2 separate regions of the Homo sapiens genome follow, and region 2 is linked to region 1. The links are contacts of gene promoters, found by promoter capture Hi-C in blood cells and fetal thymus (Javierre and others, 2016). All regions are on one chromosome and are shown on one strand. The core of a region is centred on a gene start or on the middle of the fragment in contact, and the rest is flanking DNA. Distances in the headings are between cores, read along the strand shown. Region 1 holds the start of ERO1A (endoplasmic reticulum oxidoreductase 1 alpha). Region 2 overlaps LOC105370502 (a long non-coding RNA gene).

The links. Contacts are between HindIII fragments. The CHiCAGO score rates a contact against its expected background, and 5 or more counts as called.
Region 2: a contact is called between a fragment that was not itself captured here and the fragment with the promoter of ERO1A in region 1, in 1 of 17 cell types (M2 macrophages). The highest score is 5.8, in M2 macrophages.

What each region holds. Positions count from the first base shown.
Region 1 is chr14:52,692,052-52,697,999 of GRCh38, reverse strand. It overlaps ERO1A (endoplasmic reticulum oxidoreductase 1 alpha), which reads left to right and starts at 2,442. Exons shown (of 16, transcript NM_014584.3): 1 at 2,442-2,632. The coding sequence starts at 2,519. RefSeq lists a silencer at 1,971-2,510 and enhancers at 2,761-2,810, 2,416-2,917. The HindIII fragment of the contact is 13,242 bases long and covers 361-5,948 here.
Region 2 is chr14:53,209,588-53,215,535 of GRCh38, reverse strand. All of the region lies in intron 5 of LOC105370502 (a long non-coding RNA gene), which reads right to left. Among named protein-coding and RNA genes, the nearest start is that of DDHD1-DT, 59 kb to the right of the region's middle. The HindIII fragment of the contact is 1,664 bases long and covers 2,147-3,810 here.

The DNA of each region.
Region 1 (5,948 bases), core at 1,193-3,692:
CTGGGGCCTGTATATAGGAATATGAAAAAGAGCTTTTGGCCAGGTGCGGTGGCTCACGCCTGTAATCTCAGCACTTTGGGAGTCCAAGGCAGGCGAATCACGAGGTCAGGAGGTTGAGACCATCCTGGCTAACATGGTGAAACCCTGTCTCTACTAAAAATGCAAACAACTTAGCTGGGCGTAGTGGCACGCGCCTGTAGTCCCAGCTGCTCAGGAGGCTGAGGCAGGAGAATCACTTGAACCCAGGAGCTGGATTTGCAGTGAGCCAAGATTGCGCCACTGCACTCCAGCCTGGCGACAGAGTGAGAATCTATCTCAAAAAAAAAAAAAAAAAGAAAAAGAAAAAAAAAAAAAAAAGCTTTCAGGTTAGGAGGGAGATTGTATTAATATGTACATGTGACATGTTGTAGATACTAGAATTAGAGCTTCTCAGGTCCATCAGGATCTCAGATGGGTTGTTGACTTTTACTACATGTCTACTTGGCAGTGATAGGCAGAGCTCTAGGGTTTGCAGTAAAATACATGAGTTTAAGTCATTTGAACTATTTCAACTTTTAATGTGCATGCAAGATGTCGGAAAGCTGCCAGTTTCACCTAGAAACTACCTTCTTAGGCTTGGTGAAGTGGCTCACACCTGTAATCCCAGCACTTTGGGAGGCAGAGGCAGGCAGATCACTTAAGGTCAGGAGTTCGAGACCAGCCTGGCCAACATGGTGAAACCACATGTCTACTAAAAATACAAAAGTTAGCTGGGTATGGTGGCGCAGGCCTGTAATCCCAGCTACTCGGGTAGCTGAGGCGTAAGAATCACTTAAACCCGGGAAGCGGAGGTTGCAGTGACCCGAGATTGCGCCACTGCACTCCAGCCTGGGTGAGGAAGTGAGAGTGTCTCAAAAAAAAGTCTTCTTAAAACAACAAACAAACAAACAAACAAAAAACAAAAAGTAAGGCCAGGTGCGGTGGCTCATGTCTGCAATTCTAGCACTTTGGGAGGCTGAGATGGGTGGGTCACCTGAGCTCAGAGCTAGAGACCAGCCTGGCCAACATGGCAAAACCCCTTCTCTACTGAAAATACAAAAATTAGCCGAGTGTGTGGTGGCTTACGCCTGTAATCCCAGCTACTGGGGAAGCTCAGGCAGGAGAATCTCTTGAACCTGGGAGGCAGAGATTGCAGTAAGCCAAGATGACGCCACTGCACTCCAGCCTGGGCGACAGAGCGAGACTCCGCCTCGAAAAAAAAAAAAAAAGTAATCCCAGCACTTTGGGAGGCTGAGGCGGGAGAATCGCTCTTGAGGAGTTTGAGACCAGCCTGGGCAACATGGTGAAACCTCGTTTCTACTAAAAATAAAATTAGCCAGGCGTGGTGGCGCACGCCTGTAGTTCATGCTACTCAGGAGGCTTAGGTGGGAGGATCGCTTGAGCCCAGGAGTTCGAGGTTGCAGTGAGCTGCGATCGCATCATTGCAGGCCAGCCTGGGTGACCCAGGGAGACCCTGTCTGGAAAAAAAAAAAGCGGATAGACTAGTCCCAACTCTGAATGTTAAAAGACCAGGACTGGGTATCAGAGGACCTCCAATCCTTGCTCACCTTACCTCACTTCTCTAGGCCTGTTTCTTCCTATGATATGAGCGGGTGGCTTCCACCCTCGCTGTCTAATACAGTGGGCACTAGCCAGCCACATTTGACTATGAAATGGGTCTAGTTCGCATCGAATACACACTGGATTTCAAAGACAAAAAAAGTCAAATATCTTATGAATAAATTTAATGTTGGTTATATTTTGAAATAATATTTTGCACATTCGGGGTTAAATAAAAATATTTTAAAAATAAAATGTACCTGTTATTTTTACTCTTTTGCTGTGGCTACTAAAAATATAAATGACATATGCTGCCCTGGTCTAGATGCTCTCTAATATCCCTTTCAGCTTTAAGACTCCGCCGGGAACACGGTGGACACGTAATTCGTACGATTTGATTGTCTCGCATTGAGATACGGAAGGATTGGCCGGGAGTGAGCGGGCTGGGGCTGGGCGGGGCGGCGCGGGGCGGGCACCCCCCGCCCCCCAACCCCGCAGGAAAACACAGGCCCCTCCGGCTTTCGCTCTCGCTCTGGGAACTGGAAGGACCCCCGACTCCCGCGCAGGGTCTGGGGTTGTGCGCGTCGGGTTGCGTCTCCAGGCCGGGGGCGTCAGGGAGCCGGGGGCGGGGACGGGCGCGGGCGCAGCGGACCGGGCGGGGCCGAGCCGGGAAGCTGGTCGGTGCGTCAGCCTCACGCGGCGGGAAGGAACCGGTCCGAGGCCCCGGGCTGCCGGCGCGGGCGCCGCGGCACGTCCACAGGCTGGGTCGCGAGGTGGCGATCGCTGAGAGGCAGGAGGGCCGAGGCGGGCCTGGGAGGCGGCCCGGAGGTGGGGCGCCGCTGGGGCCGGCCCGCACGGGCTTCATCTGAGGGCGCACGGCCCGCGACCGAGCGTGCGGACTGGCCTCCCAAGCGTGGGGCGACAAGCTGCCGGAGCTGCAATGGGCCGCGGCTGGGGATTCTTGTTTGGCCTCCTGGGCGCCGTGTGGCTGCTCAGCTCGGGCCACGGAGAGGAGCAGCCCCCGGAGACAGCGGCACAGAGGTGCTTCTGCCAGGTGAGCGATGTGCGCGTTGGTGCTGAGGGTCCCGGCGCCCTCCGCGGCGTGCACTGTCCCGCACGCCCTGGCGGGTGAGCGGCTGGGGGTGCGTCCTTGCATCTCTTCCCACCGGGAATGAGACTCCGGTGCTGCTGCCCGGTGGCCGGGACTGAGTCTGGCTTGGCGTGGACCGGGCCTCCACGGCAGCCTGGACGTCGCCGCGCCCTCCGGTGCCTCGGACCAGGAGAGGGGTTGGGTGCACGCGGTTGAGTGGGTTTATGCATCTTTGTTGGTCTTATCTGCCCGGGGAGAGTGTGCACAGTGTATAATGCCCTGCCAGTATTTGCTATTTTCACAGAACCTGGATCTTTCTCACTTCTCTCTTGACCAGGAACTTGTGTACCCAGTACCTGTGCTGCGTGCATTTCGCCAGCCTTTCTGGCTAAGACGTTTGTGGGCTGATCTCAGATTTCGATGTTAGGCGGAAGAATGGCTGCTTGCGGTTTTTCTGTGTGTAAGCCCAACTACCTGATGTCTTTGGGACTGCAGTTGCCCTCTGGTTTCTGGTCCTGTGTGCTCTTTTTCTCGAATGTAATGAGATTCTCTTATCGTGACACCCGTTAAGCTGGTACGAATTGGGAGGAAGGTCCTTATTCTTCAGTGCACAAGTTTAATTACAAGCGGATTATGATCATTTCCTTCTGTAAGAGATGTGGTTTCTTGAGCAAAAAATTGAGAGAAACTTACAGTTTTCCATTATCTTCAGTATCTAGTATTTCAATGTGATTACTCTTGTCAAAGCCACTTTTTGGTTGACTCTGTTGATAAAAATTACGTTTTATACAAAATTAAGGGTTAGGCATCCATGTTATTCCTAAGTGGATTTTGCTATTAATTTATTATCAGAAATACCATTTTATGTGTTTAGGGGCATGATACCATGTCAAAGGAAAGATGCATTTAAATATTATGAAAGGTTTCTCTTTCACTACTTTACATTCTTGGATTTTGTTGTTTTGCTGAGTGATTTGGGAGTTGAGGTGAGTGTTATCTAGGAAACTAAGGGAAGTTGAAAGAAAATTGCTACTTTACAACTGAGACATTGAAAAGTCCTTTACCTTCAATCATTACAAAGGACACACAATCAAGTACTTAAAAGGAAAAGGGTCATTTTTCTTCTGATTAGAAATATAACGCAACACCGAGATTAAACATTTAAAAAATAAGATAGAAATAAGTGACTTTAAAATAAAATATTCTTTACGGAAAGAAGATGTCCAATGTAACATTTTCAGCTACATTCTGGAGATTTGGATACTGGAATAAAAGTACATGTTGAACTCTTCAACTTTTACTTTTTTTTTCCTTAATAACCTTTTTGGAGTTCTGCTTAAAATAGAACTTTAAATTCTTTGCATTTATTTTCTTTTTCTTCTAACTAGTGATTAAACTTTTCCTCTTTCACAATACCCTCATATTCAAATACTTCCCTAACATAAAATTCTGTTAAACCCCTTTCTTTTTCTTTTAGAACGAGAGTGGCTATCTGTGTTTCTTTTCAGACTCAACCTTGAAAAATAGTAAATTGGGCTGGGTGTGGTGGCTCCAGCCTGTAATCCCAGCACTTTGGGAGGCTGAGGTGGGAGGATCTCTTGAGTCCAGGAGTTCAAGACCAGCACGGGCAACATAGTGAAACCCCCGTCTCTACAAAAAAAATTAAAAAAAGAAAAAAGCTGGGTGTGATGGTGTGCGCCTGTGGTCTCAGCTACTTGGGACACTGAGGTGGCAGGATGGAGTGAGCCCAGGAGTTCGAGACCAGCTTGGAGACCCGGTCTGTATTAGTCCGGGTTCTCTAGAGGGATAGAACCAATGGAATATATATATAAAGGGAGTTTATTAAGTATTAATTCACATGATCACAAGGTCCCGCAATAGGCTGTCTGCAGGCTGAGGAGCAAGGAGAGCCAGTCTGAGTTCCGAAACTGAAGAACTTGGAGTTTGGTATTTGAGGGCAGGAAGCATCCAGCATGGGAGAAAGATGTAGGCTGGAAGGCTAGGCCAGTCTCTCACGTTTTTCTGCCTGCTTATATTCTAGCCATGCTGGCAGGTGATTAGATTGTGCCTACCCAGATTAAGGGTGGGTCTGCCTTTCCCAGCCCACTGCTTCAGTGATCGAGGCTGCAGTAAGCCATGATTGCATCAGTGCACTCTAGCCTGTGTGACAAAGTGAGAGTCTGCCTCAAAATAATAATAATAATAAAAAAGTAAATTGAGGATCATATAGTTAAAAAAACAGTTTTAACAGAAATTTAGAAATTTAGAATGGTCTACTTATTTCATGATTTGAGGGAGCCTAAGCAAAAAAAAAAAAAAAAAAAAAAAAGTTGTCTATTTAAGAACAGAGACTATCAATTCCAATTCTATAAGTGAAACAATAGGGCCAGTAGTGGAAGGGATGAGGATCGGGGGAGAAGGGAGGAGAGGTGGCACTGATGAATAGACATGCAGAGAAAATTAGAGGCAAGCATATAGACAGACATACACAGAGAAACAGCATGAGAGGGAAAAGAAAAAAAATGGAGAAAGAAAAGGGGAGATAAATGGTGCAAATCATTCATTCAACAAGTGTAACCACTCTGCACGTTGACCAGAGTGTTTGGGACACAGAAATAACTATGGCATTATCCCTGCCCTGAAGAGCTATAGTTTAGTGAATAATGTTCATTGGGGATTCGTGGGAGGCACAGATCCTAAGCACTTAAAAAACAAGTTAGGAAATATTGCTAGAAACTAAGTTAAAAACTAAATTTCCACCAGATGTTTGGAAATACAAGTTAAAATCTTCTCTGGTTCTGTTTACAATATCCAGTGAGCTGCACAGTCCCGTTGATTGTTTTGGTAATAGTTTTATCTTTTCTTCCTGTTGCCTGTCCCTCTTACCACATCTGCCTTGGGTTACCACATCCCCATCCATCATCACACTGCTGCATGGTGCCTGGCTTATAGTAGGGTTCAGTTCACAGAATGTCCGCTCTGATTTGAGCTAGAGCAGTGACCTTAGAAAGTCACTGAATTAAAATGTGTAGAGCTCTACAAGTAATCAGATTAAATTCATCAAGCATATGTTGAAACCTACTGTGAACAATTTTTGGGAGATCAAAAAATGAATTAAAGGTGTGACACTTCCAAGAAGTGAGCCTGGTGAATAATTGGTGCTCAACAAGTCCTAGGGAAATTATAAGATGCAAGCACTATGCCAACAGGAGTATATTTTAAAAATTATTCTGCTTAGCAAGCCATTTGCATGTTTTCTGGAACTGATCTTTCAGATTGG
Region 2 (5,948 bases), core at 1,729-4,228, 520 kb before region 1:
TGGTGAATAAGATGTTTTGGTAGCTACAAGTAGTCTCATCTTGATGGACATGGGTATATAGATAAGAGTTACCAGAGATGGACATAACGTTATAAGCAGAGGTCAAATTATAGAGTTGTCTGTGCCATTCTAAAGTTTTGTCTTATCAGTGATGGAGGGTTATTGTAAAATAGGCTATGGTGTGGTCTGCTTTGCGCTTTAGAAAGATCATGCTGAAAACAGTATGAAAGAGAAACTTTCAACCACAAGCCTGGAGGAGGAAAAACCAGGATGAAGACCATTGCAATAGACCAGATAAGGGGTATTAGTGGACTGATTTAGGGCAGTGGAAGTGCAAGTGATGAGAACACATTGGACTTGAAAACTGTTTAAGAGCTAAGGTTGACAGGAGATAAAATTGACAAAGCTAGTGATTGAGTGTACATGTGAAGTGAGAGAAAAAGGAAGAGTTGAGGATGATTCTCAAGGTTCTGAGTAAACAATGACAGAATCTAAAGGTGGGGGGCAAGTTTTAGGTGAGTAAATATGCAATTTGGGAAATGTTTATTTTTTAATGCCTATATGAAATGTCCAGGTACACCTGTTCAGGAGGCTATTAGATATATAACCTTGGCCTTAGTAGGGAAGTCAGTATTGGGTTGATTGATTTTATTTGCTTTTTATTATCTATTCACACTTTAATTCATTTCAAAGATGATTTGGGACATAACAACCAATATATAGTGTCAGGTTCATGACTATGCCAATTGTCATGTTGAGGTCCAAAGAGAGTAGATGGATGAAGAGAAAGAACACTCAGGGAGCCTTAGGCAGGTGAAAGATGATTTTATTCAGCAGCAGCTCTCATCAACAGCTTTCTCATCAGCAGCTTACTTACACTGTCTCTCTCGCACTGTCCTCCCTGTCTCGGCTGCTTGCTCTGAACTGCTCCCACACACACAGCTGCACAGCCGGTTCTCCCCTGCTTTCAGGGTCAGCAGCTTAACTCTTTCTCTGTTTCCCTGGGCACGAGAGACAAGCCAAGCCATGACCTGGCTCCCCTCTGTCCATCCACAAGAAAGACAGCTCTGGTTCTCTCTCTGTTTCTCTGGGCACCAGTACAAGAGCCATGCTGAGCCATGCCTAAGAGCCAAGCCCCATGCAATACTGTCAGCCGGGCAGTTATACCTTTTAAAGACAACAGCAGCTCCAAGCCAAGAATGAACTTACACAAACAGGTGATAACAAATGGAGTATGAGCCTGCACCCTAAACCCACTGAATCATGCAGGCCTGGATGTCTGCCTTGGCCTAACCTTGACCAAAGAACATCCATGTACCTTACATATAGTTAAAGCTATCAAATTGGATGAGATCTGGTCTATTACTAGCCCCTTACACATGGCAAAGGGAAAAATCAATCATTATGTTCTACAGCAACACCCACATAGTGTGTGTGTTTCCCCATGAGGATACAGTCTACCTCTATCTATGAAGCAGTAGAAAGAACACTCAGCAAGGAGTTGGGAAACATGGTTTCTGTTTCCAGCTCCTACATTACAATGTGACCCTAGGCAACTCATTTAAGCTCTCAGAGGCCTCTGATGTGAAAAGGCTGGATTGTGTGATCTCTATGGTTATTTCCAGCACTGGAATGGGAATTCCCTTTGAACCCTATTTCCTGATTCATTATCCAGCCCTTTTCCTCCCTTCGGTGACCCCCGTTGGCCTCCAAGGTGCCAATTAGCAGTTCAACTTGAGAAGGAGAAAAAGGAAAGTAAAAAATGTTTGCTCTATGCTGGTTATTATGACAAGAAAATATATAAATGGGAAAAACTAACATTATTAAAGTTGTTTGGACCTGGAGGTTTTGGTTCATATGGATTCACTCTATCACAGAAGATCACAGACAATGTAAATTCAGCTACACTCCAAGAAAGACCATTTAAACTAGGCTTATTTAAAGGCAAATAGGGATGTCCCTATGCTTCAGTCTTCCCATGCATTTCTACAGAAATCTTCTAGTTATAACATTCCAATTATAAAAAAAAGTGTTCAGCCAACTTCATAATTTAATTTTCAGAAAAATAAATAAATACAACCAAACACAAAGCTTTTTCTTTAAATGTAATTAATGATCCAATGACCTAAAAGGGAAAGATTAAGCTTTCCGGAACAATAAAAATACATGGATCTGAGCAAAATTTGGGGGAAATTCCTAGTATAGTCAGCTTACTATGTTCAACTTACTTTAAGTTCAAGCCATGACAAACTTCACAGAATGCTACAAATGACCTTTCCTCTGATTTGGGGGATACTTTTTCAATGGTGTGCAATGCTCCTTCCTCTCTTCTCTGTATGGAAAATGCTTGCATCCAGTGTTCTCAAACTTGGGTGATGTGTATCATAATCCCCCCCCACCCTCCCCCCCATGGTGGGCATGTTAAAAAAAAAATACAAAACAGATGGCTGGTCCCTACCCTCAGTTTGTAATTCATTAAGTCTGGAAAGGGCCCAACAAATGGCATTTCTAACATGTTCTCAGGGGATGCAGATGCTGCTGGCCAGGAATCACATTTTAGGAACCACCAGTCCTATGCCTACTTCTATTTGAAAAACTCAGCTCAAATCCCACTCCCTGAGTGAAGATGGGGTAGAGAAGGGAGGGGTATCCCCTGTTCCTTCTCCTCCCAAAAGGCTATCAATAGCTCCATAGCACAGCTGTTTTACATCTCTGGTCCCAATCTGCTCACCAGATCTGTTTCTACCCCACCTCCACCCCACTCCTTTGCAACTTACTTGAAAGGGAGGCCCAAATCTTATTCCTACTTTTATGTTTCTCAGTATCTACAACAGTGTCCACTCCCACCAGATACTTAATAAATGGACCCCCCCTACACACACACAAAATACACAAATGAACAGAAAAATGACTATGAAAGCACTTTTAAAGTCAAAGTGCTATGAAAAACATGTTGCAAATGAATCTGCAACCTAGTTACAATACAGACTTGCTTGTTTGTTTGTTTTTTGAAACGGAGTCTCACTCTCACCCAGGCTGGAGTGCAGTGGTACAATCTCAGCTCTCTGCAACCTCTGCTCCCAGGCTCAAGCAATTCTCCTGCCTTAGCCTACTGAGTAGCTGGGATTACAGGCACCCGCCACCACGCCTGGCTAATTTTTGTATTTTTTTTTAGTAGAGTCGGGGTTTCACCATGTTGGCCAGGCTGCTCTCGAACTCCTGACCTCAAGCAATCTGCCCACCTCAGCCTCCCAAAGTTCTGGGATTACAGGTGTCAGCTACCTTACCTCACCTTAAAATGCAGACTTTGATTCAGAAAGTCTAAGGTGGGGCCTGAGAGTTTGTATTTTTAATAAGCTGTAGGTGAGGCTAACACTGTCTATGGCCCACACTCTAAGTTGCAAGGTTTTATACTGGTGGTTCCCAGCTTTGACTATACATTAGAATTTCCCCATGGATCTCTGAGAATATAGAGTCTGATCCACTTCCCAAATTAAATCAGAATCTCCGAGTGTGAGACCCAGACATCAGTATTTTTAAAATGTTCCTCAGTAATTCTAATGCACAGCCAGGGCTGAGAATAGTTGATCTCTAAGTAATCACACATGATATATTCAAATTACCTTAAAATCTAAACTATGTGTTCCAAACATGAGAGTTTTCTATTATTTATGATTGCATTAATGTTGATTATACCAAATATATCATTTTATTCTCTTCAAATCACTTACTTATTGTAAAATAATGTCTTTACCCAGCATTATCTAAACAGCCAGAAAAGAAACTTCTAACAGCTTTTAAAATAAAGCTTTACTTAATATTTAAAGTTTACTTAATGTTTACTTGAATTTTCTCAACTTACTACCATCTTTAAAAAAAAAAGATCAGTAACTGTTTTATACAATAATTATGATATATATTTTTCTTAGAAATAGGCCAATGTACCTCCCAAAGAAAGTGCCCTCAACATTAAGGATGCCAAGTGTCAGATGTCACAGCATGTGGTCCTAAAAAGCTGACTTCCAGAGTGCTCCATTGTTTTTTGTTGTTTGTTTGTTTTGAGACAGAATTTCGCTCGTTGCCCAGACTGGAGTGCAATGGCGCGAACTCGGCTCACTGCAGCCTCCGCCTCCCAAGTTCAAACAATTCTCCTGCCTCAGCCTCCTGAAAGTAGCTGGGATTACAGGCACCCGCCACCACACCCAGCTAATTTTTGTATTTTTAGTAGAGACGGGTTTTCACCATGTTGGCCAGGCTGGTCTCGAACTCCTGACCTGAGGTGATCCACCCACCCCAGCCTCCCAAAATGCTGGGATTACAGGCATGAACCACCGTGCCCGGTTTCCGTTGTTTTTATAGTCTGTCTTAAAGAAGCAGAGTCAGGTGACTTTAAAAAAATCTATTTTAAGAAAAATTATCAAATAAAAATCCACAGCTACACAGAAGATATATTAGAGAGTGTTCTTTCAAACAAAATAAAGATCTTAATAGCATACCTTTAACTTATAAGTAAGTCACCAGAGTTCCTATAAAATATAATCCAGTCTTCTACTCAATTTCTACCAACTCTTCACAAAGACATCTGTGCCATAATGTAAGGAATGTTTATAGGGTTAACTTTGATCTTGGTGTTTAAAAAAGCAGCCCAGATAATACAAAACTTTCTAGACTTGGAGTGATCTGTTTTAACATTGTACTAGAAACGGGCTACATAATCCATTTCAGGTCCCTGAATCCTGGGTTTCAATCAGCAGATGCTGGAATCTCCTCTTGCCAAAATGTGAATTAAAATATCTCGTACAGTACTAGGAAGAGGTACTCGGCCAACACTGCCAACTCTAGTGTTGCTGCAGCTGAGTCTCAGAATGATAAAGAGAAGCTCAGTTATGCATTTGGTCAAACCAAAGCTGAGTGCAGGAACTAAGTAAACCTCTCACAAGCCTCTTACCCTTTAAGAATAAAAGATTGAGGAGAGGATGTGGAGAAATAGGAACACTTTTACACTGTTGGTGGGACTGTAAACTAGTTCAACCATTGTGGAAGTCAGTGTGACAATTCCTCAGGGATCTAGAACTAGAAATACCATTTGACCCAGTCATCCCATTGCTGGGTATATACCCAAAGGACTATAAATCATGCTGCTATAAAGACACATGCACACGTATGTTTATTGTGGCACTATTCACAATAGCAAAGACTTGGAACCAACCCAAATGTCCAACAATGATAGACTGGATTAAGAAAATGTGGCACATATACACCACGGAATACTATGCAGCCATAAAAAATGATGAGTTCATGTCCTTTGTAGAGACATGGATGAAATTGGGAATCATCATTCTCAGTAAACTATCACAAGGACAAAAAACCAAACACTGCATATTCTCACTCATAGGTGGGAATTGAAGAATGAGAACACATGGACACAGGAAGGGGAACATCACACTCTGGGGACTGTTGTGGGGTGGGGGTAGGGGGTAGGGATAGCATTAGGAGATATACCTAATGCTAAATGACAAGTTAATGGGTGCAGCACAGTAGCATGGCACATGTATACATATGTAACTAACCTGCACATTGTGCACATGTACCCTAAAACTTAAAGTATAATAATAATAAAATAAAATAAAATAATAATAAAAAAAAGGAAAAAAAACAAAATTACTTTCACACATACAGACTTAGTATCACTCATAATACAAAAGAAATGTTTAATAAATGTGTACTAGATTAATAAAAGAAATAAAAGACTGAAATAATAACCTTTAGAAGACTAATAGTTAAAATTCTTCATTAGGTACAACTCTTATGATGTACCTTTTCTGATAATCTTACATTTCCAGGCAATTGTAATTGTCAAAGAGATATTTGAAACAGCATGATTTGTATTCATGTTAAAAAAAAAAAAAAGATGACAATGTGCCAAATTCAATAAATTGTGCTATTGT